Linked DNA regions of Homo sapiens: region 2 is linked to region 1. The links are contacts of gene promoters, found by promoter capture Hi-C in human tissues and cell types (Jung and others, 2019). All regions are on one chromosome and are shown on one strand. Each heading gives the region's core, a stretch centred on a gene start or on the middle of the fragment in contact. The rest is flanking DNA. Distances are from core to core; before and after follow the strand shown. Region 1 holds the start of DAOA (D-amino acid oxidase activator). Region 2 overlaps ARGLU1-DT (ARGLU1 divergent transcript).

The links. The method cuts DNA at HindIII sites, captures the fragments that hold promoters and counts their contacts. A contact is called where the count stands out against the background at its distance.
Region 2: a fragment that was not itself captured here is called in contact with the fragment with the promoter of DAOA in region 1 in 1 of the 25 tissues and cell types used here (lymphoblastoid cells).

Annotation. Positions count from the first base shown.
Region 1 is chr13:105,462,893-105,469,438 of GRCh38, reverse strand. DAOA (D-amino acid oxidase activator) reads right to left here and starts at 3,394. Exons shown (of 6, transcript NM_172370.5): 1 at 3,379-3,394; 2 at 3,107-3,223; 3 at 2,298-2,386. The coding sequence starts at 3,150. DAOA-AS1 (DAOA antisense RNA 1) reads left to right here. Exons shown (of 7, transcript NR_040247.1): 5 at 3,019-3,252. The HindIII fragment of the contact is 13,308 bases long and covers 1,973-6,546 here.
Region 2 is chr13:106,619,765-106,626,310 of GRCh38, reverse strand. The region is part of intron 1 of ARGLU1-DT (ARGLU1 divergent transcript); the gene reads right to left. Among named protein-coding and RNA genes, the nearest start is that of ARGLU1-DT, 5.2 kb to the right of the region's middle. The HindIII fragment of the contact is 4,564 bases long and covers 263-4,826 here.

The DNA of each region.
Region 1 (6,546 bases), core at 2,145-4,644:
GTGAATACCTGAAAGAAATAAAATAGGATTGGATAATGTGAATTTCTTTTACACTCATTGTCATTATTAGAAAATAAAGCCCAAATAAAATATGACAGAGCAGAATTAGTTTTAATACAGGAAAAATTTGCAAGTTGAAGAGGAGAAAATGCAGCCAGGAACTAACGGTACACACCTAGGTGGTTAAGACAGTGTGGATGGTGATAAGAGAACATAAGGAAAATTCTGCCCTCCAGCTACTTTGAATTTAGTGTTCTGCCTAGTATGAATATTATTGAACCCTATGGTATGGTACTTAACTATCTAATGAGATGATAACTCTCTCCTACCTGTAGAAAATGTAGATGCCTTGTCTACTTCTGCTTATATACATGCTGAAACATACTGATGTCTGCTGTCTTCTTAATTTTACACTAATTTTTAAAGTAAAGATTGATTTGATAAAAAATATGCACTTGGAAAAATTATTCTGCTATTCCCACATTTCATGTTCATGTCTATTTACAGCTAACAAGACTAGCACGCAAATAGATATATGCTCCAAGATCTCGCTTCTTTTCATGTCTGGCTTCTCCCTGTTTACCCACAATTATTTTCATAATATTTTACTGTGATTCCACAAACCAGAGACAAATCTCTGAAGGGAATAGTGTTCCAAGGCATGGCCATCATTAGAAGACAATAAGCTTGTTTTCCTTCCAACATTCTTAGCTTTGTTGAAGGCTAAGTGGAAGAAATTAACATACTGCATGCCTTTCAATGAAAATTGTTTCTAATTATTTTGCTTCTCAAATTATTCCACCAGGCATTGATTAGACTTTTTAAATTCATTTCATATCTGTCACTCTCAGCTAACATTTGTAATTTTTTAATTGTTGTTAAAGAGAATCTATTAATTGAAATATAATTATCCTCTTTAATAAAAGTAAATAAAATTACTTGGGTAGCCAACATATTCAAGTAATCATCAATCTTGGTCAGAAATTAAAAGTAAGATGAGCATCTAAACTTGGCACTCAAAGACTGACCATCTGCACCTTTGAGGCAAAATAAAATTCAGTTTAGGAAAACCTTATGAAAATCAATGTTTTAATTATGCTATCAAGGGCTGTGGTAGGCAGAAACTTCTTTGCTCCACCCCCCAAAAATGTCCAGTTCTTAATCCTGAAAACCTGTGGAATCTTGTGTAACAAAGGGACTTCATAGATGTAATTAATGTTAACGACCGGGAGGTGGAGAGTGACCTCGGTTATCCTGGTGGGTCCAAGGTAGTCACAGGCATCTTTATAATCAGTGAAGGTCTCCCTGCTGTGCTTAGAGAGGGGGATGCTGGAAGAAGAGTGGTCAGAGAAGCAACATTGCTGACTCTAAAGACAGAGGGCAGGCCACGAGCCAAGGCATGCAGGAGGCCTCCAGAAGCTGGGGCAGGCAAGAGAATGGACTCAGCCCTGGAGCCTCCAGAAGGCATGCAGCCCTGCCCATTCCTTGCTTTTAGCCAGGTAAGATGTCTGTCAGCCTGATGAGAACTATGAAATAATGAATGTGCTTGTTTTTTTCACCACTAAATTTGTGCTTATTTGTTATAGCAGTGATAGAAAACTAAGACAAGGCTATATCTTGGCATGTCAGATTTTAAGTTATCTGCTATAGTGTAGAAAAGCCCAGAGAAGGAGCTGCAATTTGTCTCTTTGAAAAAAAAAAAAAAAAAAGGATCACCTTCTAGGGGATTAAACATTAATGGGCTGGGTGTTGTGGCTGACACCTGTAATCCTAGCACTTGGGGAGGCCGAGGCGCTGCTGCACTCCAGCCTGGGCAACATAGTGAGACCCTGTCTCCAGAAAAAAAAAAAAAAAAGAAAAAGAATTAAACGTTGACAGATTATTAAGTGAGGCACTGTGTGAGACCTAGCTTGGGTTTGCGCCTATAGATATTTAAAAGTTGATCCAGGTTTTCACTTGAAAGCAGAACTACTGCCTTAAATTCCCACTTCACAAAAATAAATCATGGATTGAGGGAAAAATTTACTTGTTTGCTTTATAAAAAGAGATATCGATCTCTTCATAAGTTATATATGTTTTACAAGGTTGCACTGTTTGAACTGTAAGTGTGAATGGTTGCTAACACTCCAGAAACCAAGAGGTACATTTTAACTGGAAAAATTTTCTTCCTGTATCTTACAAATTAATTGAAGTTTGTCTACGCTTGAAAATATGTCAAAAGTATTATGTAGCTTTACCACAGTTTTATCTAACTTCTAGAAGAATTTAAATTCATATAAAGATAAAGAGTAACATACCAATAGAGTTTAGAGAGTTTTCAGATTTGCTCAGAAGAATGCTCCTTTGAAAACCTATGAAGTAGATTTTACCCAATGTATATCTGGATCTAAAAATTAAAGAAAATATCAGTCGTGTTCAGATTCCTTTATACCCTGCAGAAGAGAGAAAGAATAAGCAACATCAATGGAGCATATAACATGTATGGTTTAGCACTTTCATATTTTTAATCTTAACTATTCAGCCAAATACGTCTTATTTTTTTATTTTTATAGATGAAGATATTGAGGTTTGCATTTTTTTTTTATAAATTGCTCAGTCATACAGTTGGTAAATAGCTGACAGGAGAGTTCACTCCAGGTCTTACTGGCTCTCAAACCTTTGCTTTTTAAAAATCTCCAAACTAGCGCCTCTCCCTTTTAACTGCAAAATAAGCACAAAGTTATCCCAGTTCTACACAGTGCTAAACAAATTCCTGTGAGCAAACAATTAGCACAGGCAGATGGAGTGAGGGGGAGGTGGTTTATAACAATGGAAAGCTGTCTGCCTGCTGTGGATTAAAGATTCAAACTCTTTGATCCTCCTCCCAGGGATAGGTGAGGGCCTATGTCTCCTCCTCATTAACATGAGTGATCCTTGGCTAGGTTCTCCTTTGACTGACAGAATATGGGAGAAAGTAAGGCTGAACCATATACTGGGCTCAGGCTTCCAACCCTGACATGTTCCACTTCCTGTCTCCAGGAACATTCACCCTGGGAGCTCTGTGCTGCCATGCAAATGTCACATTGCACTGAGGCCGCCATGCTGTAAAAAACCCCAAGCTACCTACCTGAAAAGCTGGAGAGAATCAGCACCCATCAGCTTTTCCAGCATTTTGGGTCCTCCCAGCTAAATCATCGGCATTGTGAAGCAGAGATGAGACCTCCTGCCATGCCCTTTCCAAATCCTGGACCAACAGAATCATCATATACACTAGTAAGCTTTTACTTTAAGCCACTAATTTGGGGTGTAGCTCTTTTGCAGCAAAAGATCATCAGAACACTGCCATGCAGGAGCTGATAAACTTGCTCACTGTTATGTATGTATCCAATGACTACTCACACACACATTACTTGCTTCACTCTACTTTCTGGCTTTCCATTCAGCAAATTTTAAGAAATGAAAATGTTATTCGTGGGAAATTAACTCAAGATCAATATTGTTGTAGTTAATCTCTTTGTAAATGGTAAAATATTAAATTATTGTGAGTCATTTTTATTTAAAGAAGTTTGGTTCTTTAAATGAAAGAAGTTTGGGTCTTTTGTGGATACTCTGCATATAGACATTCTAGACATGAAAGAATGTTGAAGACAAAGAATGTTGAAGAAATATAGACATGAAAGACTGTTGAAGTTTGGTTTTTTGTGGATACTCTGCATATAGACATTCTAGACTGGAGTGATACATCTTGTTCAGGTTTCTATGTTTTTAAAATGATAACTTGACACGCCTACCAATGCCAATTTTTAGGATATATATTTGTATATCTGTGTGAACTAAGGAAAATTCAGGAATGATTAAACCTACATATTTTGCCAGGAGAGACTGGATAATGTAAGTCTTTATATTTTTCACAACTTCAAGTTTATAGCATCCAAATGAGCAATTGCTGACATACCTAGGGGATTTCTCTGCAGGTTCAAGTCTGATCTGGCCTGAGGGCAACACTCTTACTGAGTGTGTTCCTAGGCACTCCTTGGCAGTTGGCTCCAGGCCACAATAAAGAGCCCTGATGATTCTCTGAGCAGGCCCAACTTCCATTCACATTCATGGGAATATGAGGATGACTTGTGATCTTCAGGACTTAGATAGACTCTTTCAGTTGGTGTAGGGTAAGCTCAGCTCATCTCTAGAGACTTCCCACAGTGGAGCTCATGCATGACTCTGTGCAGGTGGCACAGGACAGCCAGAGACAGGCACCTAAGGAGTGCACTACCAGCAGGTGGACTCTCCACTGAGGGAGGTAGACAAGGGAGAAAGCCAGGTGTCCACATGGAGCAGGCCTTACTCAGGGAGACTGAGATTTTGCTCTACACATCATAAAACGTGGAGGTCATTAATGGAATTTTTCACAGGACATGACTGCCATAGCCATGATAGGGTCCCTGGCTAATCTTTCAATTATGATAGCATCATAAGATAATTTTGAATATGAGGAGAGAAGAATAACTCTAGAACTGCAATATCCAATATGGTAACCCCTAGCAACCTAAGGCTACTTAAACTAATTAAAATTAAAACTTTAGTTCCTCAGTGCCACTAGCCATATTTCAAGTACTCAATAACCACACACACTTGGCTACCATGTTGGACAGCACTGACATAGACCATTTCCATTACTGCAGAAAGTCCTCCTATTTGACAGTCCACCTCTGGAACCAATCCGGAGTCTTTAGGGACCTAAAAGACTGAGGTGCTAAATCTCAGAGCAGTACTCTGCTTAATGCTTAGTTAAAAGACTTGCTAATCTATATAGTTGATCTAGAGAACTTTAAAGGCAGCTAGTTCGTAGCAACTATGTTGCTGGACCTTGAAACTGTATGTCAGGAACTTGGTGTTCTAGTGGTGACTTCTCTTTTATCTACCATGTTCACACTTTTCCTACCACTCATTTATCCATTCAGAAAGTATTTCAGAAGTCCCTATGATTTACCAGGTGCTATTTCAGACACTGAGGCACTGTGGGGAACAAAACAAACAAAGTCTCCTTTCTCAGGGATCTCACATTCCATGTGGTGATGCAGACTGTAAAAATTCACACACAGAAGATACTTTCATACAGTAGGAAGTTTTATGAAGAATATTTCAAAAGGGGTGTGGGGTGGGAGAGGTTGATGTTCAGGTGTTTGCTTGAGAATGAACTGTTCATACAAAGAATCAATAATTCATTTGTTCCACAAATATTTATTGAGTACCTGTTATTAGCAGGCTACTTTATTAGGTTGCCAGAGCAGGGTTTTCTTAGCACAATTAAAACACAATAACATTTGTTAGAAATTCAAAGACCCATGTCCACTCTTGCATAATGAATCAGAGTCTCGAGGTTATGGTCCAGAGACTGGTGTATTTAAAAATCACTGAAGTAATTTTAAGGTATAGCCAGAATAGAGAGGACACCGGCATTCTTCCTGAAACTCAACACACTAGACAATGAGAAATCATTAAAATGAAGTAAATATTTTGATTGAGATTGTTTTGGCTTCAAAATTAATAATAGCTTGGAGAGGAAAGAAGGTAAATTATAAAAGACAATTAAGAATCTCTTAAATGTATTTAGATAATAGTTACAGAGGGACAAAAATGAGTAGGATCTGTGATAACAGAAAGAATAAAAATAAACAAAAGGACTTAAAAAAGTAAGAATAAGAAAGAAGTCAACAGTAACCCAGAAATTTTCAACCTCATGTCTAAGAGAATGATGATGCTATTTAGCAATATATCCAAACCAAAAATACTACGAGAAGTAGGTTGTGTTCACTTGTGATGTTGTAAATTTATAATTACTTTTTCTTTATTTTGGATGCATGCTTTTCCTTTTTCTGAAGTTCTGAGACATACAAAAACAATAAAGAAAAACATGATTTTATGCCAGAAAATAAGATAGGAACAATTCCTCATGCTCAATATAATTTTAGCCTCCCACATAATCCAAAATATATGTGCAGCAAATTGTGGGAGTTTCGAAATTAGATCCAACTTCTTATTACAGTTAAAGATAAAAAGAAAACAAGGCTTTGTCTTTTTTAGGATCTTTTTTGGAACTTGCAGTATAAAAATACTCTTTCAAAAAACATAACTCAACATCAAAGTCCAATAAAACAGTAAACTGGACTAAATATATTCGTATATTAGCTTGACCTAAGTCTGGGAATTGAGCCAGACTTTTCAAATTATACTATCATTATTTACAGAAAAAGGAAATGTTAACTAACATTATTAAATAAAAGCACATATACACATGCATAACAGGAAACAAAATGAATGTTAATGTTAACAAATGTTGAAGATGTGTGTGTGTGTGTGTGTGTATGTGTGTGTATACAAAGCAGATAAGATATTCTCTTGAGCATGATTGGATTGGAAATAGTAGCTATGCCAGGGGAAATTTTATGCAATCCCCTTGGCTGTGGGCTACACATTTATTGTGTTATACAAATATGCCAAAAAAAATGCCATTTACACAGTTGCCTAAAACAAAATTGAAATTATACATTAGTGTTTAAAGTTTTT
Region 2 (6,546 bases), core at 1,295-3,794, 1.2 Mb before region 1:
TAGGACTTATTGCTTTTGAGTCTATTTTATATAAAATATTGGCCATAGGCATGTTTTCTCTTTTATAACCACTCACCCTGCATATATTATCAGATGTTTAGCCATGCACTAAGATTCTGTTGTATTTTTAAATTTTAGTGTTTCTCAAATGATTTGAAAATCTTCATTTACAGTAATGCTTAAAGGGTCCACAGATATGATAATTAACCAAGAAATGGTAATTCTGTTTGTCTTATGAACTACTCCTGTGAGACCGGGGAGCTACCTGCTATCTTGGGGAAATATTCAAGAGAACTAGATGTAAACAGCGAGATACACACAAAGAAAAACTTGGGGGCAACATGGAAAAGGAAAGGCTTTGGGCAGCCTGTGTGCATGGCCTGCTGGAGACATAGATGAGTACGGCCATCTAGCATCACTGTGATCTGTTTTAATACAGGCTTACATTTTGAGTTTCCCATTTGTCTCTCAGAGGGACCCGGCACACTGATAGTGGCTAGAGCAGAGATAAGAAGAGAAGAAACCCTGTTAGCTCCCTGCTGGGAGTCTTCAGTTCTCCAGGGAAGGATTACACAAGTCAGCGTGAAGAGCGCCTGAGACATTGATTTCCCACCACCTGCAAACCACGTTTACCTCTCTGGGTTTTGTTCATGGAACAAAACCATAAGATGGAATTGAGTTCATGTCAGAATTGCCTTAAAAGTAACTATGATGGTCAATTCTCTGGGTCACCTTGACTGGCCATGGGGTGCCAAGATTAAATTTCCTTCTGAGTGTGCCTGTGAGGGTGTTTCCAGGTGAGATTGGCATTTGAACCAGTGAACTCAGTAAAGGAGATGCCCTCCCCAAGTGGTTGGGCATCATTCAATCCCTGGAGGGCCTGAGCAGAATCAAAGGCAGAGGAAGCAGCAGTTTGCCCCTTTTTGCATCATCACTGACTGCTTGGGTTGGGACATCTCATTTCATCTTCTCTGGCTCTAGGTACCTTCCATAGGAAGCATCATGATCATCTGTCATTCAGTCGCTGATAGATGCCAGGAACTGCACAAGGTACCTAATACACATTTTCTGGAGTCTCCCCAGCAACTTTGGAAGTCAGGTTTGATATTCACCACTTTACAGAAGTGGAGACCAAGGACCAGAGAGAAGGGGACCCCATCTACCTGCAAAGCCTCAACCTCCCTGCTCCACACTGTCAGCTTCCCAGATTCTCAGGCCTTTAGACTGGGACTGAATTACAGCCCCAGCTTTCCTGGTTCTCCAGCTTGCACATGCTAGGTCCTGGGACTACTCAGCCTCCAGAATCATGTGAGCCAATTCCTCATAATAAACCTCCTTTTATATCCATATAGAATGTGTACATCTCCTGCTGGTTCTGTTTCTCTGGAGGACCCTGACTAATACAGTGATGAACACAATTTTTCTCCTCATTGGTTTTCAGGTGATTGAGATCATCTTGCTCACTGATCAGATCATCTCAAATCTACCAGGAGCGCTTGGCCAACCTTCCATGGGTTTCTCACATTCTCTGAACTTCTGTTTCCTCAGAGGGAAAATAGAGACAATCTTCAGATCACCGAGTTGATGTGAGGAGTGAGTAAGATAATAAATATGTAGGTATCTGACACAAAGGCTGACACAGAAGGAGCGCACTAGGATTTCACAGTATAATAATAGAGTGTGAATTTCAGCTCCAAACTGTCTTACTCTTTCTATTCTACGAAATGCCTGCCATTCGCTCTCTAGGCATTTGCTGAGCATTTGGTCCCTGAATGGAGAACCCGACGAGGACATCAATTCTGCTTCTGTGACCAGCTGCTGCGGAGGGTTTCCACTCTGTTCCCTAGCAGCCATCAGGTCTAAAAAGGATTGCAGATAGTTCTTGGCAAGACTTGACTAACTGGAAGTGGTGGAGACCCCAACCTACAAAACATGTAAAGAGATGGAAAAAATAGAGGCCAATTCTCCTACAGAAAGAGGACTCCAGGGAAAATCACTAAGCAGCTTCCATAGGAATCGTAGTGATCATCTGCTATGGAGTCACTGCTTGGTGCCAGGAGTTGCAGCAGGGGCCTCATACACATTTCCTGGAATCTCCCCAGCAACGCTGGAAGTCTGGTTTTATAATCGGCACCTTACAGAACTGGAGACTGAGGACCAGAGAGGACAGGACCCTGTCCATCTACAAAGCTCCATCCTCCCTACTCTACCCATGCCCTCCCCTGAGAGCTGAATTGCTGTTAAGAAATAAAAAGAGGCCTGTTCTTTCTGTGTCGGAGGTATATTGCTAGGAACAATGGGTGGAAGTCACAGGACGACAGATCTCAGCTCCACATCAGGAGGAGCTCTGTAACTCCGGGGTGTTCCCAGACAGAAGGCTCTGCCTCCCAAGATGAAATTTCCCCTTGCTGGAGATACTTGAGCTTTGTTTGGAAGACAGAGTTTGGAAAGGAGACTTGAGACCGAAAGAACACCTGTACCAGATAGCTTTGAAGGTTCCCTCTACCCCTGCTAAAATTTGTTGCCTGGGAAATAATAATTTCCCAAATTCAGGGGAGAGAGAGTTACTTTTGCTTCTTCCTCTTGTTCCTCCAGTGACTGAACAAAATGCCCTAGGGAAGAGCTTCCCCCAAGTCCACCTCTAACACAGCCCATAAGTTGAAGGATGATTAGCTCCGGAGATTGAAATAAGCCCTGAAACTGATTCCAACTTCTTAGAATAGGTGTGATTTTAGCTTGGAAGTGTCCTAAGTCATCAGTCTCAAGAGCAGTACCACTTGGCAGGCTCTTTAATCCCTACAGTCATGCATTGGGGAGTATTAATTCAATATCTCCCCAAAGCTTAGCAAAATAAAATGAAACATAAACTGTAAAATAACACAACTTTCTTGCATACAAAGCTTTAAAAAGAAAGCCAGCAAAAGTGTTTTAAACAACTCACAGAGTCCACATTGTATTGTGGAATTCTTTTTAATGAAGCTGTTATTATGCTACAAGAATGCAATAAAACATCTGAAACCTGAAATTTCCTATTTTTATCACCTCCTGTAAAATTTTCAAAAGGGCCAAAATGATTTGTTTCAAAATGCGTATAGGAATAATTGGATTGAGAGTTTTCATGCCAACTTTCCATTTGGAATGAAATCTAGAGACTGTTACTTCATAAACCAATGAAAATATGAGCATAAAATGAAAAGGGCAAAATATTATAGAATATAAGTATAATCAAACATAACATACCCGGGAAGGAACTACTGATTTACCATCTCCCAGTGTGTGGCTCAGCACAGGGACCTCTTTTATATAACAAAGTGCTCACAAATAATTGGTTTTACCTGAATCCCCTAATTACTTCTGGAAAAAGAAATGCTATATGCATGAATTTCTGCACACAAACACATAATGTGAAGTGCTGATCCCACACTGGTTAATTTTGAAACAAAATATTATTCTGAATTGTTCATGAAGATGATATGCCTGCTCCCTTAATCTTCTGTTTGCAACACAAATCTCAGCTAATCCTTAGTACAAACTGGCAAAAATCTAATCCTTGGCTGCTAAGCAAATGCATTTTAGCAACAAATTGTGTATGAGAAGTTTATTTAAGATGTGATTTCTTGTAACTGTTCTTGCCAAATGACCAGATAGTAATCATACCCTCAAATGTGTAAGTATACAGGAAGATATTACTTATTTTATGATTTTAGATTTAATTTTCAACTCACATCATTCTTAAAGCCATTCTTAAAGATTGGTCACTTAGGGAATGGACAAAGTCTCTCCTCCTTTGCAAATCAAGTTTCTGTGTTCAGTGGAAACCTTTTCCAAAGCATTCATCTCTGTCAGCATACCCAGTGCATGCTCTGTCATGAACAGCTCCCAGCATTAAGTGGAGCAATTCCGTCTACCATCTGGCTTTGTGAGCAAAAAGCTTTTTTTATATAAAAATATGAAACTAAGCTACCCCCGTCTAGACTTACAATCTTTCCAAGGACATTGTCCATCTCCCCATTCATTCCAAATGGATGAAATTTTAGATGGAACAGTAATAAGAGGTGAAAGGTTTGGAATCTTATTTAATATGTTTACTTGAATTGTTTCTAAAGAACATAGGAGTTGGGATCACTTTTTTAAAAGTACCACTGTCCCTCAGAAGCTACTCAATATTTGCTTTTACTATGTGACAATTGAGCACATTTTCAAAAATACAGTAGGAAACACTGTGTAACAGAAGCAACATGGATCTTATTTAGCTGTTGCAGATGTTGGTGGTTAAAACTACCCGACTTTCACTGGTTGATCTGGAATTAGATCTCCTATCCTTTGGTAACAGTTCTAACCACATAAGTTTATACTAACACTCTGGATAAAATCACAGTTGGAAAAAAATAAACCTAAAAAGTCACTAAAACAAGAATGAGTCTGAGCTCTCTTTCATTGTTCTTTTAACTCAACCTATTTGCTGCATGTGCAAGGTTGAGTTTGTGTTTCAGTCATGGAGTTGGTTTTGTTCTCCATTTTTCTTCAGCACCCACCCAGGACAAAGTACGCTGTATGCCGGCAAGTGTGGTCAAGACCATATAACCTGAGTTCTTCCTGCTCTTGCTGCTGTGAAAATTTTAAACTGATTTTTTAACACTTAAACTGCATGAAAACACTTTCTTTTAAAAAACAGTATTGTTTTTGTTTTAAGAAAATTAAATGGAAATCCATTAGGGGAGCAAGGAATATTCTCATCTCAACCGGGTAAAAACCCACAGAAACTGAGGCCACCGAGATGCCAACTTATCAGTGCAGAAATAAGCTTAGAATCTGAAGGATAAGATGTAATTCTGCATAAAACTAAGCTTCAGTACAAGAATATCCTGTTTCAGACCTAGTTGCACTGATCATCAATCAGTGTTGCCTACATGATCATGGTAAACCCAAAGTATGAGCAATACAACACGTTTGAGTTGTCTGGCTTAATGTCCTTCGGCCAGAAAGCTGCGGGTTCTGACCTCCAGCTCCAGATCCTCCAGCTAGAAGAGCAGCCCTGGAGAATAAGCAAATGCACGCATGTTGGGGCCAGATTGCTAGGGTGGAAGCCGCACCCCTTGCTTACTTGTTAAGTGACTTTGAGCAAGTTACCTAACTTCTCTTCTGTCTCAGTTTATCAGCACAGTGAATGTTACAATAGCACCTACCTCATAATGTCATAGGGAGGATTTAATGAGTTAACATTTTACATATTAAAAAAAAAAAAAAAAAGAATGAAGGCCTTTCTTTCAGCCCCAGATCTGTACTACTGCCATTTGGGGAAGAAGAATTTTCCTAGGACTCATGAAATACAAATTTTAAAAAGCTGTGTCCAACAAGAGCTGGAGTTACAGTATCACACACCATTTCCACCTCCTGAAGTGCTCCGTGCTCTCTGTCACACTTCTCATTCTGCTCTTTAACATCCCAGTATTATGAAAATCCACCCAGTTCCTTACAAAACTACCTCTCACCCTCCTTCCAGCAGCTCAGAGTTAAACTTGCAGAGGTTTAACAGTGGAAAGGAGAAAGAGCTGACAATTCGTTTATTTTTATGATGCCTTCCTATCAATGTGAACATTTGATTTTAGCCCAAGGCCACATGAGTCAGGGCAAAATTTTTAGCAGCAGAAAGGTCTTCCCAGGCCTCTGCATATCACAGCAGCTCACCTCATCCCTCTTAAGACCGTTTCCAGTCTCAGAAATACAAGCTAAACCCTAATATTGTACTATATTTTTTTTAGTACAGCATGTTGATTTCACTCAAAAGGGCAATCACCGTGACTAATATCAATCTTACAGTATCAACTTCATTTACATCACACCTCAGGTATAATGAGAAATGATTTTATTTTTCATTAACTATATTTTTATGTATAATAATAGAAAATACCTAAAAGGCTTGACTGTACACATTATGAAATTCTATTGATACACTATAGTTGTAATTTCTTATGTATGTAATAATCAAATAATAAAGAATAAGTATCTCAAGATTGGGGACTATCTGTTGTGGTTAAAATAAAAGTTTAACCTCCTTCAAATAATAAGTAGATGTCTTCTCTCATTTTATATCTGTTCAGCCCCTATGAGAGCGCGTGTAGCTGTAGCTCTTGGAACCAACAAGCAAATGGGTGATTTGCCTTACTTACCACTAGGGGGGGTGAAAGCTAAGTTAGTGACCCGGGCTGCAGGAGTCCAAGGAAGAGAGAGAAGTGGGGGAAAGGCAATGAACATAACGCCAAATAAAGGGAAAAAGAAGAGGAGCGGCAATGCGGGAAGGAAGGGGGAGGAGATTTGCTGGACTCAGGGATGTTTAGGGGTCCGTCATCAATTTCTTCAGATCCCTCATTAGATGGCCCCATAAGTAATGGCAGCTTGGTGGGAGCCTGCCAAGGGCAAGGGACCTTCTGCTTCCTCTGTCATCTCCTCACCTCTGCAGTGAGTGCAGTGAAAAGTCCCAGGTTCCTGTTGAGAACTGGGATTTTTGAGGACTTATCGCCTTTGACCTGTAACCTACTGATAAAG